2 separate regions of the Homo sapiens genome follow, and region 1 is linked to region 2. Evidence: promoter capture Hi-C in 16 types of primary human blood cells and fetal thymus (Javierre and others, 2016). All regions are on one chromosome and are shown on one strand. The core of a region is centred on a gene start or on the middle of the fragment in contact, and the rest is flanking DNA. Distances in the headings are between cores, read along the strand shown. Region 1 has its middle 4.0 kb from the start of SKAP2. Region 2 holds the start of TAX1BP1 (Tax1 binding protein 1).

Region 1 (6,830 bases), core at 1-2,500, 870 kb before region 2:
GTTGTGATTGGCTCTTACATTACTTTTCTACCTAATTCGTATCCTTGGGGTGACAGATTTTCCCCACTACAAGGAAGACTGGGAAGTTCTAAGCACCGTCCTTTGGCAGGAAAAAACAAACAAAACAAAACAAAAAAACAGAAGGCCGAATAGACATTGGCACCACTGTCCATCTACAAGCATCAAAAATAAAATTGCTGGTGGTGGTTAGTAGAATAAAATTATAAAATCTGCTCACTCCAACTTGACCATTTAGTCAACAAATACTTACTGTCTTCTATCTGTAAAGCTTCTTAAAAGTTTTCTCTTTTAAAAAAAATGGCTTCTTTAAAACCTTTAACAGGCATACATCTTTGTGCTTCCCAGATATTGCATTTTTTAACAAATTGAAGGTTTGTGGCAACCCTGCATCAAGCAAATCTGTGGGCGCCATTTTTCCAAAAGCATGTGCTCAGTTCATGTCTCTGTCACATTTTGGTGATTCTAACAATATTTCAAACTTTTTCATTATTATTGTATATGTTATGGTGATCTTTGAAGTTACTATTATAATTACTTTGGGACATCACAAACAGCACCCATATAAGACAGCGACTGTAATCCATAAATGTGTGTGTTCTGACTGCTCTACCAACCCTATACCTTCCTCCATATCTCTCCCTCTCTTGGGCCTCCCCATTCCTTGAGACACAACAATATTGACATTAAGCCAATTAATAACCCTACGATGGCCTCTGAGTGTTCCAGTAAAAGAATCATTTTACTTTAAATCAAAAGCTTACTTTAAATCAAAAGCTAGAAATGATTAAGCTTAGTGAGGAAGGCATATTGAAAGCCGAGACAGACCAAAAGCTAGGGCTCTTGCACCAAACAGCCAGGTAGTGAATGCAAGGGAAAAGTCCTTGAAGGAAAGTAAAAATGCTACTCCAGTGAACACACGAATGATAAGAAAGCGAAGGAGGCTTATTGCTGGTAAAGAAACGTTTTCATGTTCTGGATAGAAGATCAAACCAGACATAACATTCCCTTAAGCCAACGCCTAATCGAGTGCAAGGCCCTAACTCTCTTCAAGTCTACGAAGGCTGAGAGGTAAAGAAGCTGCAGAAGAAAAGTTGGAAGTTAGCAGAGGTTGGTTCATGATGTTTAAGGAAATAAGCCATCTTCAGAGCATAAAATTGTAAGGTGAAGCAGCAAATGCTGGTGAAGCAGCTGCAGCAAGTTATCAAAAAGATCTAGCTAAGGCCAGGTGCAGTGGCTCATGCCTGTAATCCTAGCACTTTGGGAGGATGAGGCGGGCGGATCATGAGGTCAGGAGATCGGGACCATCCTGGCTAACACAGTGAAACCCCGTCTCTACTAAAAAAAAGATACAAAAAAAAAAGAAAATTAGCCGGGTGTGGTGGCAGGCGCCTGTAGTCCCAGCTACTCGGGAGGCTGAGGCAGGAGAATGGCGTGAACCCAGGAGGCAGAGTTTGCAGTGAGCCAAGATTGCGCCACTATACTCCAGCCTGGGCGACAGAGCGAGACTCCATCTCAAAAAAAAAAAAAAAAAAAAAAAAATCTAGCTAAGATATCTGATGAAGGTGGCTATACTAAACAAAGAGTTTCAGTGTAGATGAAACAACACTTATTGGAAAACAATGCCATCTAGGACTTTCGTAGCTATAGAGTAGAAGTCAATGCCTGGCTTCAAAGCTTCAAAGGACAGGCTGATTCTCTTCTTAGGAACTATTTCAGCTGCTGACTTTAAGTTGAAGCCAATGCTCATTTACCATTCTGAAAATCCTAGGGCCCTTAAGGATTATGATAAATCTACTCTGCCTGTGCTCTATAAGTGGAACAACAAAGCCTGGATGACAGCACATCTGTTTACAGAATGATTTACTGAGTATTTTAAGCACACTGTTGAGATCTACTGCTCAGAAAAAAAGATGCCTTTCAAAATATTGCTGCTTATTGACAATGCACCTGGTCACCCAAGAGCTCTGATGGAGATATACAAGAAGATTAATGTTTTCATGCCTGCTAGTACCACATCCATTCTGCTGCCCATGGATCAAAGAGTAGTTTCAACTTTCAAGTCTTATTTAAAAAATACATTTCATGGCTGGCCATGGTGGGTTACACCTGTAATCCCAGCACTTTGGGAGGCTGAGGCAGGAGGATCACTTGAGGCCAAGAGTTCAAGACCAGCCTGGGCAACATAGTGGCACCCCATCTCTACAAAAAAAAAAAAAAAAAAAAAAAAAAAAAGAATAATTAGCCAGGTGTGGTGGTGTGTGCCTGTAGTCCTAGCTACTCATGAAGGTGAGATGTAAGGATCCCTTGGGCCCAGGAGTTCAAGATTACAGGGAGGTATGACTGTGCCAGTGAACTCCAGCTTGGGCCACAAATGAGACCCTATCTTAAAAAAAAAAAAAAATATATATATATATATATACACACATATATATACATATATATACATATATATATACACACATATATATATACATATATATACATATATATACCTATATATACATATATATATACATATATATATATATTATATGGCTATAGTTGCCATAGATAGTCATTTATCTAATATATCTGGGCAAAGTAAATTGAAAACCTTCTGAAAAAGGTTCACCATTCTAGATGCAATTAAGAATATTCATGATTCATGGGAAGAGGTCAAAATGTCCAACATTAACAGGAGTTTGGAAGAAGTTGATTCCAACCCTCAGGGATGATTTTGAGGGGTTCAAGACCAGTGGAGGATGTGGTGGAAATAGCAAGGGAACTACAGTTAGAAGTGGAGCCTGCAGATGTGACTGAACTGCTGCAATCTCATGGTAAAACTTGGAGGTATGAGGAGTTGCTTCTTATGAATGAGCAAAGAGAGTGGTTTATTGAGATGAAATCTACTCCAGTGAAGATGCTGTGAATACTGATGAAATAATAAGAAAGGATTTAGAATACTACGTCAACTTAGTTGATAAAGCAGTGGTTGGAGAGGATTGACTCCAGTATTGAAAGAAGTTCTACTGTGGGTAAAATGCTAGCAAACAACATCACATGCCACAGAGAAATCGTTCATGAAAGGAAGAGTCTCTCAAGGCAGCAAATTTCATTTTTGTTTTATTTTAAGAAATTGCCACAGCCATCCCAGCCTTCAGCAATCACCACCCTGATCAGTCAGCAGCCATTCACATTGAGGCAAGACCCTCCACCAGAAAAAAGATAACATGCTGAAGACTCAGATGATCATTATCATTTTTTAGCAATAAAGTTTTGGGGGTTTTTTAGAGATGGAGGTCTCTCTATGTTTGCCCAGACTGGCCTGGAACTCCTGGGCTCAAAGGATCCTCCCACCTCAGCCTCCTGAGTGGCTTGGGACTACCGGAATGTACCGACATGCCCAGGTGCAATAAAGTATTTTTAAGTAGGTGTGTTAGTTATTTTTCCAGACATAATGCTACTGCATACTTAATAAACTACAGTAAACATAATGCTTATATGCACTGGGAAACCAAAGTATTTGTGTGACTCACTTTACTGCAATAGTTGCTTTATTGGTTTGGTCTAGAACCTAACCTGGAAAATCTGTGAGGTATGCCTGTTTGTGTGTGTGTGTGTGTATACACTCATGTATTTATTACATATATGTACGTATATACATATTTATTACATTCAAGTGCCTCTTAACCATTAAAATCCCTCAAAACCTGGTGCGGAACCATCAACGAAAATGAAGTCGCTGAAATCCCTGAAGAACACAGAATAGAGGCTGAGGAGGAAGGCTTCAGACAGAAACTTCCTAGGCAAAGCATTTAGTGAGTATACACTGTGTATTTCTCTTAGTGAAAATATCATTGACAACATGAGTCATTGAGATGCCCCCTGCCACACCCTCCATCTCTGCTTGGCAAGGCACGTTTTCAAAACCACGCAAATGTCAGCTTCTATATTAAGCCTTCACTTAGATTTCCCTTGGTAGAGATAGTGGCTCTTTCCTAGAAGTTACTATTATATCTTACATTGTTCCTGGGCTCCAGTCACATTGTAAATTGTTTATTCCTTTACCCTCCAACTTTCACTAGATCAAACTATAGTTTTCATTAGAATCACAGAGAGAACCTATTACATTGTGAATTCTCAAATCCCATCCCCAGAGATTCTGAGTCAGTCTTTTTAGGGTGGGGCCTGAGAATCTGCGTGTTAAACAATCCTCAGCTGTAGCTCATGCCTGTAATCCTAGCACTTTGGGAGGCTGAGGTGGGTGGATTGCCTGAGCTCAGAAGTTTGAGACCAGCCTGAACAACATGGTGAAACCCCATCTCTACTAAAATACAAAAACTTAGCTGGGCGTGGTAGCATGCACCTGTAGTCCCAGCTATTCGGGAGGCTGAAGCAAGAGAATTGCTAGAACCTGGGAGGTGGAGATTGCAGTGAGCCGAGATTGCGCCACTGCACTCCAGCGTGGGGCAACAGAGCAAGACCCTGGCACTGAAAAAAAAAAGTCCTCATAGGTGAATGCAAGACATCATGAAATTTCATTTTAAGAATCACTTTGCTACTTCCCAGCTCCTACAGGGCACAAAATTTGTTGTAACTTATCTTTCATCCTCAGCTGGAACCCTAAACCTAACACAGAATAACAACTTTATTAATAGTTCATCAAAAACACTTCAGACAGTCTAATAAAAAATTAGAAAGTCAAATGCAGTATGACATTTTTGTGTAATTCTCTGAGATAAAAGTAAACTAGTTATAAAAGAAAAAATAGAGCATTTTCGAGTCTGTATCTTGCCTCTCAAAACAAACAAACAAATAAAAGACAAAAACTTTACGGCTGAAGTAAAACATGCAAAAATAACAACAAAAAAAGACACCCCTGCAAACAAACCCATTCCCCAAAATGGAATCTGAAATTCCTACCCAGATTTTAAAATGTGATGAATTATAGAAAGAGCACTGAAAATTTGAATTGTTTTTGGTGGAGGTAAAAGTAAATAAATAGTCATTTTACAATATACGTCTTCCAACTTCAAAGAATTGAGAACTATTTTTCTTAAGCTACAAAATTATCTTCCTTCCTAAAGAAGAAAACAACTATTTCATGGACATTTTATATTAGGGAGGATTCTTCCTCCTTCTACAGTTATCACACATAATTCTTTGTCTTGTCACATTTTTTATTAAACCAGGTTTCCAAATGTCCCAATCCTTTGTTTCCTTCTGATAGAACTGAACCTGTTTTTAAATTCCTGTGTCTCATTTATTTACTTATACTCCACTCATTCCACTAAGGAATTGAGGTGATTTGCTCTTGTATCAAATAGACAGCTTTCTGGAGTGGATCAAATGGACAGTGTCTACACTGCTCATTATGACAAGTCATTCTTGTTAGTGAGAGACAGGAAACTATTAAGATTACCTTAAAATATATAGCATCTCATAGTCCAAATAAAAAAAGGCAATAACAGAAAATGGACTTTTTGTGTGAAACACATTTTCCCTATTTAGGAAGCCATTCTCAGACACAGGTCCATGATAGATTCACTTGGGCAATGCTTTGTATAGTCTATCATTTTTACTGTTTATTGTTAAAGTTATTGAAATTGATTATAAGATGGAAAGTGTAATAAAGAGAAGTTAGGAGAAATACATTCTTATTTCTCTTGTTTCCATAACAAAAACCAAGAAGTAAATCAAATCATACTTTACATTCTTTAAACTAGTCATATTAGGTTGAAAAAAAAGAATAATAAATGTAACTTTAAATCTCAACCTAAGAGAGGTAATGGCCTCCCTACCATTCTACAAAGGAGAGACTAGACTCTGATAAAATCTTATGATTTGTCTTCCCAAAAGTAGATCCTCCAGTTCAAAGATATATGTATATATCCCTATAACTGAAGCTAACTGCCTTTCTTATGTTCTTCAAAATTAGCTTAGGGGCACTGAATAAGTATTTTCCCACAGGCCTAGGTTTAAGAGAAGCTAAAAGAGCACCGAAGAAAAATAGAAAGTAAGCCAAACACAATTTACTTTTCTCAGCCTCTCATCTTCATTTTTATTTGGCTTTCATAGGCATGTGGAAGAAAGATTATATTTATACTTAGGCATTATATTAGCTATCTATTGCTGAATAACAAAATTGAGTAGCTTAAAACAAACAGTATCTCACAGTTTCTGGTGGTTAGGAATACATGAGCAGCTTAGCTAGATGACTCTGGCTCAGAGTCTCTCATAAGAACTGCAGTCACCTGAAGACTTGACCATGGCTAGAGAATCTGATTTGATGATGGCTCATCTACAGGACTGCTGACTAGAGTCCTCCATTCCTCTTTGTCTGTTAGAAAAAAGCCTCACTTGTTCACAACATGGACTTCTCCATAAGGCTGCATGAGTATCCTCATGATATGACAACTGGCTTCCCAAAGCAATTAATCCACAAGACAGAGCAACCAAGACAGAAGCTGCAATATCTTTATGACTTAATTTCAAAAGTGACATGACTTTACTGCTGCCATATTTAATTGGTAACACAGACCAAGCCTGCTGAAAAGGGGGAAGGGACTACATAAGGCTGTGAATACTGGAGGTAGAGATCATTGGGGGCCACATTGGAAGCTGGCTATCATAGTAATCCCTCTGACGCCCAATGGTTCACATCCCTCCCACATGCAAAAATACACCGATCCCCTCCCAAAGCCACTTGCAAAGTCTCATCCCATTGTCGCATAGTCTCAAAGTCCAGAATCTCATCATTTAAATGAAGCTCAGGTGTGGATGGTGCTCCTCTGGTTTAATTCCTTAAATACGGCTCTTTGAGGCCAGTG
Region 2 (6,739 bases), core at 730-3,229:
TCTACTAAAGATATAAAAATTAGCCCAGTGTGGTGGTGTGCGCCTGTAATCCTAGCCACTGGGGAGGCTGAGGCAGGAGAATTGCTTGAATCTGGGAGGTGGAGGTTGCAGTGACCCGAGATCATGCCACTGCACTACACCCTAGGTGACAGAGCGAGACTCTGTCTCAAAAAACAAACAAACAAAAAACCCAAACCCTACTCCCCCAAAACCCAGAAATTCAATTAAATACTAAGAGGGTATCTATTTATCTTGGTGGGAAAAACTTGGTCTAAAAATTAAAGGATCATTATTAAAATGAATGAAGCAAGCTAAAATTCCAGAACAAATACCTTCCTGGGGAAAATAAGGTCTAAAAATTCAAGAAATAATTAAAAATAACAAAGTAAAAATACCTGTGAAAATGTCCTTTGAGACCAGCCTGACCAACACGGCGAAACCTCCTCTCTACTAAAAATACAAAAATTAGCCAGGCGTGGTGGCTGGCTCCTGTAATCCCAGCTACTTGGGAGGCTGAGGCAGGAGAATTGCTTGAACCCGGGAGGCGGAGGTTGCAGTGAGCCGAGATCGCGCCACTGTACTGCAGCCTGAGCAACAAGAGCGAAACTCCGTCCCTCTCAGGGCAAAAAAAAAAGTCTTTCAATTATGGTTTTTATTAAGCATACTGTTTTTCTGATTTCATTAACTGAAAATTAGTGGTAATTAAAAATGTATTACATATAAATAGGAATGTGATTTAAACAAAGAGTGACATCTCTGACAAATTGTGCTTATAAAATTCACTGCTATGTTTACATTTCTTAAGGGACACAGTTATTTCTACTACCAGAAGGTTGCTACCAGTAACGCAAGTGATAACTTATGTTGATTATTCACACCGTTTTCTTCATCCATAAAATAAGGAGACTGGGACTAAATGGCCTATTAAGGTTCTTCTGAAATTCTATGATCAAGTATAATACCCAGCACAAGACCAAGTTCAAAAATGTCAATACACAGGAAACAAATCAGTCTGTAAATATTGAGAACCTATGTTATCAAAGCTAATGTCTTCTGAAATAACTGGAAGTAAAGATGAAAGTATATGAAAGATAATTTTGAATGTTCTGTATTTAGAATGTGCTTCAACATTTAATGCGATCTAATTTACATATCCTTTCTGGTGCTATTGCAAGGTTTGTCAGGGTTTTACGGCAACAGAAGACTATGATGAATTCGAATGGGACACATTTGCTTCTGTGGAGTTACGATTCAAACTGAATGTCCAATATAGGAAGGCAACATATACAACAAGCAAAAGTGATTTTAGAAATAACAGAACGCGGGAGAAAATTCACACACGGAAAATGATACGGATAACAAAAGCAGGTAACTCACAGAAATGCGGCTAGAAAAGAGGCCTCTGCTGGAGCGAGAGCAAATAGAATCAGAGGGCATTAGAACTGAAAAGCTCCTAGGAGCTTTCAGTGAACAAAACTTCATAGCCAAAAAAGCACACGACTGGGCCAGGAGTTCAGAGACAGTCTTGGTGCTCAGGGGTTTGCAGCCCTAGCCGTGTGGTCACTCCCTTGCTTCTCTGGCTATTTCCTTATCTATAAAATGAGTGGGCTAGTTTAGGCCGACTGAGACGCAGACAGGGATACGGTACTGTCCATGGACCTCTGAGCTGCCCTTTCCACATCGCTGGTGAGTTACTTAAACCTCCTGTGTGTTTCCCCCTTTCGTATGTCAAAATAATAACATAAAATCAGAATGTAAATCCAGACGCATTGTTTTGCTGCGATTAAGTTGAACGAAAATAGCAAGGACGAAGTAAGGAGAGAGCCAGCCTACCCGCGGGATGAGGCGTCCCGCGGCGGAGTGGGCTGGGGGCGTGTCGTCGCGGAGGGGAGCGGCGAACCAGGCAGGAGGCGGAAGAGACCGCCCCGTGGGCGGAAGTGACGCAAGGCCTACTGTCGGCTGGGAGGGGAGGTGTAGCCGGTCTTTGGGGGTAGGCGGTAGTGGCGGAAGAGGTTCGGCGGCTGATGGCGGATCAGGATCGGAAGCCTGCGTAACTTTCTCCCTTGATCCGGGAGTCTTTCCACTGGGTAAGGCGCCTCCCCGGTCCACCCCAGCGCCTTGTGCGGGGCGGCCTCCAGCTGCATCTCTTTTAGGGCTCGTGCTACACCCTTCAGCCCCTGTACTGTAGGGGCCTGGCCGGTCTCGGGAGAGGTCTCTGTGGTGACGAGGCTTTCCTTCCCGAAGACAAACCTTCCTTTCCAGACTGCGATTGTGACGGGGGTGTGGGCGACTCGGATCAGCTGTGGAGTTTTGGAATGGCAACGGGTGGCCGCCCCACGCGGTGGGAGGCCCGTGGGACAGGCCTTCGCGATTTGGGGGAGGCGTGTGGGACGGGGGCCCTTTGGCTGGGGACGAGTGACGCTGGCGACCCCCGAAGGAAAAGCTTCTGGTGTCCAAGGCTAAACTCTGGGGTGACTGTTTTGAGGGCAGTGTGGGTTTTACCGGCGCAGTAAGCTGAGAAAACACGTAGGTCGCGTCCGAGAAGGACGCTGGGGTTTGCCTTTGCGGAGAGAAACCCAGCTGTTTTGGTTTGAGTCGCCGGTGGCGAAGGGGGCGGAGACTCCCTGCGCCGCCTACTTTTGAGGGCCGCGGGCGGAGTTGGCGGTTCTGGCTGATGGCCTGCTTCACCTGGAATCCATTCCCCACCCCGCCCCGTTCGCAAGGTGTGGACTAGTCCCGACCGACTTGCACTCCTGGCTTAGGGAATCTGTGGCTAGAGTTTAGCGTGCGCGCGCGCGCGTACACCTTATTAGTAAAAAATTGAGCTTAGCGTGCGTCTGTGTGGGTGTGTGTACACACCTTATTGGTAAAAGTTTTGTTAGAAAACACTGGCATTTGACTTTAGACATACACAGTGTTAGATTTCCGGTTTCACACAGTGGTTATGAATTGCTATTATGTTAGGCTTTAGATGGGAAAATAAATCTTGATTTTTCAGCTGTCTGCATTCTGCTAATGTTAAAATTTCTACGAGCTGTGCACGAACAATTAATAGTTACAAGTTTGGTGCTCAATTCCTAAAGGATTTAAAGAGATCATTTGAATAGAAACTAAAAGTGGGTCGATCGTCCTCAAAGTGCTTTTCGGGTTTAGGGAAGGAGCTTAGGACAGCCTTTCTCTTTCGTTCTGTTCCTTTCAAGGGTAAACTTGAAGGATTGTTTGATGATGCCGACTTCTAATAAGGTTTTATTTATTTTTCAAACTGATTGTTCAACTTCAAAGAACATTGTAGTTTTTGTTTTCTAGTCATCACGTTCTTTTTTTTTTTTTTTCCTTGAGATGGAGTCTTGCTCTGTCTCCCAGGCTGGAGTGCAGTGGCGCGATCGCGGCTCATTGCAACCTCCGCCTCCCAGGTTCAAGCGATTCTCCTGCCTCAGCCTCCTGAGTACCTGGGATTACAGGCGCGCACCACCACACTGAAGGGGTGGGTTGCCCCTCCACACCTGTGGGTGTTTCTCGTTAGGTGGAATGAGAGACTTGGAAAAGAAAAAGACACAAAGTACAGAGAAAGAAATAAGGGGATCCGGGGAACCAGCGTTCAGCATATGGAGGATCCCGCCAGCCTCTGAGTTCCCTTAGTATTTATTGATCATTTGTGGGTGTTTCTCCGAGAGGGGGCTATGTCAGGGTCACAAGACAATAGTGGGGAGAGGGTCAGCAGACAAACACGTGAACAAAGGTCTTTGCATCATAGACAAGGTAAAGAATCAAGTGCTGTGCTTTTAGATATGCATACACATAAACATCTCAATGCTTTACAAAGCAGTATTGCTGCCCACATGTCCCACCTCCAGCCCTAAGGCGGTTTTTCCCTATCTCAGTAGATGGAACGTACAATCGGGTTTTATACTGAGACATTCCATGCCCAGGGACGGGCAGGAGACAGATGCCTTCCTCTTGTCTCAACTGCAAGAGGCATGCCTTCCTCTTATACTAATCCTCCTCAGCACAGACCCTTTACGGATGTCGGGCTGGGGGATGGTCAGGTCTTTCCCTTCCCACGAGGCCATATTTCAGACTATCACATGGGGAGAAACCTTGGACAATACCTGGCTTTCCTAGGCAGAGGTCCCTGCAGGCTTCCACAGTTTTTGTGTCCCTGGGTACTTGAGATTAGGGAGTGGTGATGACTCTTAAGGAGCATGCTGCCTTCAAGCATCTGTTTAACAGAGCACATCTTGCACAACCCTTAATCCGTTTAACCGTGAGTTTGACACAGCACATGTTTCAGAGAGCACGGGGTTGGTGGTAAGGTCATAGATTAACAGAATCTCAAGGCAGAATAATTTTTCTTAGTACAGAACAAAATGGAGTCTCCTATGTCTACTTCTTTCTACACAGACACAGTAACAGTCTGATCTCTCTTGCTTTTCCCCACACATACCCGGCAAATTTTTGTATTTTTAGTAGAGACGAGGTTTCTCCATGTTGGTCAGGCTAGTGTCGAACTCCTGACCTCTTGATCCGCCTGCCTCGGCCTTCCAAAGTGCTGGGATTACAGGTGTGAGCCACCGCACCCAGCCCATCACGTTCTTAAATTGTAGACCGCTGTTTATAGTTCTCACTGCAGCCATGTTTGTAGAATTAACCAGCAAATACCTTTTCCATAACAAAAGTAAAATTTTGGAATTCAAAGTTTCAACCTTTTTAATAATGTTAAAATAATCATGAAAGATCCTAATGATGCTCCTTGTATACTTCTTTTGGGGACTTTGTTGTATTCTTTTGGAATGGATATGTTAAATCTGGGCTTTATGCATTTCTGTCTTTTTAAAGCTTATTTTGTCCCAAATAAACCTTTAGAAGAAGATAAAAATGTCCTCTACCCTAATATGTGTGGGCCAATATCATAGCATTTTAGAAACCAACTTATAAAAATCTAAAAAGTAAATAAAAGTGGTGCGGGTGATACCTGGGCGGAATGTCTTGGCACTCAGGTGTAAAGGATTCTGGAAATAGGGATGTCTGCAAGGGTGCAAATTAATAGACTGGGGCTTTTGCTGTTGCCTCCTAGAAAAATTGCTGATTACATTTTTTGGGAGCAGAGGTCTGTTGAGAGTTGTTAGTCTTTCTTTTTTTGAGCCACAGTGTGAATAATTGGAAACTATTTGAATGCTGGACATTTTTTCCTTTCATATGTTTGTGTGTCCTATCGGATTAAAGTTTGGAGATAATTCTAAAGGTTTTTTAGCTGAAGATGTGAAAAACTTTCAGTAACTCTATCAACCATTACCTGAATTACAACACTTCTAAGGGTACAAAGCGTTCATATTCTAAAATGCAGTGTTTCTGCTACAGTGGGTCATATGTGGAGTGTTACTAATCTGTTTCATTTCTTTATTTGCTTTGGTTTTACTATTACAGAAATTTTCAAACATACACAAAGGAGAATGAACAGTAAAATGAACCGACACTTTACTAATCTTGTTTTATTACCCCCTCTAACATTAATTTTTTCCCCTGGAGTTTTTAAAGCAAATCTTAGACATCAAGACATTTCACTTACAGTTAGTTTAGTATCTTTATTTTTTTTTTTTTTTTTTTTTTTTTTTTTTTTTTTTTTTTTTTTTTTTTGAGACGGAGTCTCGCTCTGTCGCCCAGGTCGGACTGCGGACTGCAGTGGCGCAATCTCGGCTCACTGCAAGCTCCGCTTCCCGGGTTCACGCCATTCTCCTGCCTCAGCCTCCCGAGTAGCTGGGACTACAGGCGCCCGCCACCGCGCCCGGCTAATTTTTTGTATTTTTAGTAGAGACGGGGTTTCACCTTGTTAGCCAGGATGGTCTCGATCTCCTGACCTCATGATCCACCCGCCTCGGCCTCCCAAAGTGCTGGGATTACAGGCGTGAGCCACCGCGCCCGGCCTAGTATCTTTATTTTTTATTTTTATTTATTTTTTATTTTTGAGACGGAGTCTCGCTGTCACCCAGGCTGGAGTGCAATGGCGTGATCTCAGCTCACTGCAGGCTCCGCCCCCCAGGGTTCACGCCATTCTCCTGCCTCAGCCTCCCGAGTAGCTGGGACTACAGGCGCCTGCCACCTCGCCCGGCTAATTTTTTGTATTTTTAGTAGAGATGGGTTTTCACCGTGTTAGCCAGGATGGTCTCGATCTCCTGAACTCGTGATCCGCCCGCCTCGGCCTCCCAAAGTGCTGGGATTACAGGCGTGAGCCACCGCACCCGGCCTAGTTTAGTATCTTTAAATGATAAAGACTAGAAAAACACAGAATCACCATAATTATATTATCACACATAACAAAATTACCTTATTTTTGAATTCTAATTGTTAGGACTGGCAAATTATATTTAGTATTTATCTAAATTAAAAAGCTTAATTTGGCTTCATATGTTTAATGTACAGAAGTTCTTACTATGGTCTATTTTTCAGTAAGTTCACTAAGGCTTACATTTTTGGGCTAAAGTAAAACAAGTATTGGGAACCACTGGAAAAATACTACCACAAAAGTCAAATCTGCTTTGGGCTTGAAAAAGTTACAAGAGGAGTAAGTAAAGATAACATTGAAATGCTTCCCTGCCCCCACCCCATGTTTATTTTAGCTGTATACATAACTGAGTGCCCACTATATATTATTTATCTTTTTTATAGACATTAATGCATTCGCAAAATAATAAAATTGGAATTTAGACCAAAGACTTTATAATATACAGTTTACAGCATAACA

What was found. The method cuts DNA at HindIII sites, captures the fragments that hold promoters and counts their contacts. A CHiCAGO score of 5 or more calls a contact.
Region 1: a fragment that was not itself captured here is called in contact with the fragment with the promoter of TAX1BP1 in region 2 in 1 of 17 cell types (fetal thymus); the score reaches 6.5 in fetal thymus.

The regions. Positions count from the first base shown.
Region 1 is chr7:26,865,134-26,871,963 of GRCh38, forward strand. No RefSeq gene overlaps it. Among named protein-coding and RNA genes, the nearest start is that of SKAP2, 4.0 kb to the left of the region's middle. RefSeq lists an enhancer at 1-24. The HindIII fragment of the contact is 885 bases long and covers 809-1,693 here.
Region 2 is chr7:27,738,183-27,744,921 of GRCh38, forward strand. It overlaps TAX1BP1 (Tax1 binding protein 1), which reads left to right and starts at 1,980. Exons shown (of 17, transcript NM_006024.7): 1 at 1,980-2,087. TAX1BP1-AS1 (TAX1BP1 antisense RNA 1) reads right to left here and starts at 2,493. Exons shown (of 2, transcript NR_187572.1): 1 at 1,834-2,493. RefSeq lists enhancers at 1,915-2,777, 1,994-2,263, 2,778-3,641 and a silencer at 2,431-2,663. The HindIII fragment of the contact is 7,568 bases long and covers 1-2,441 here.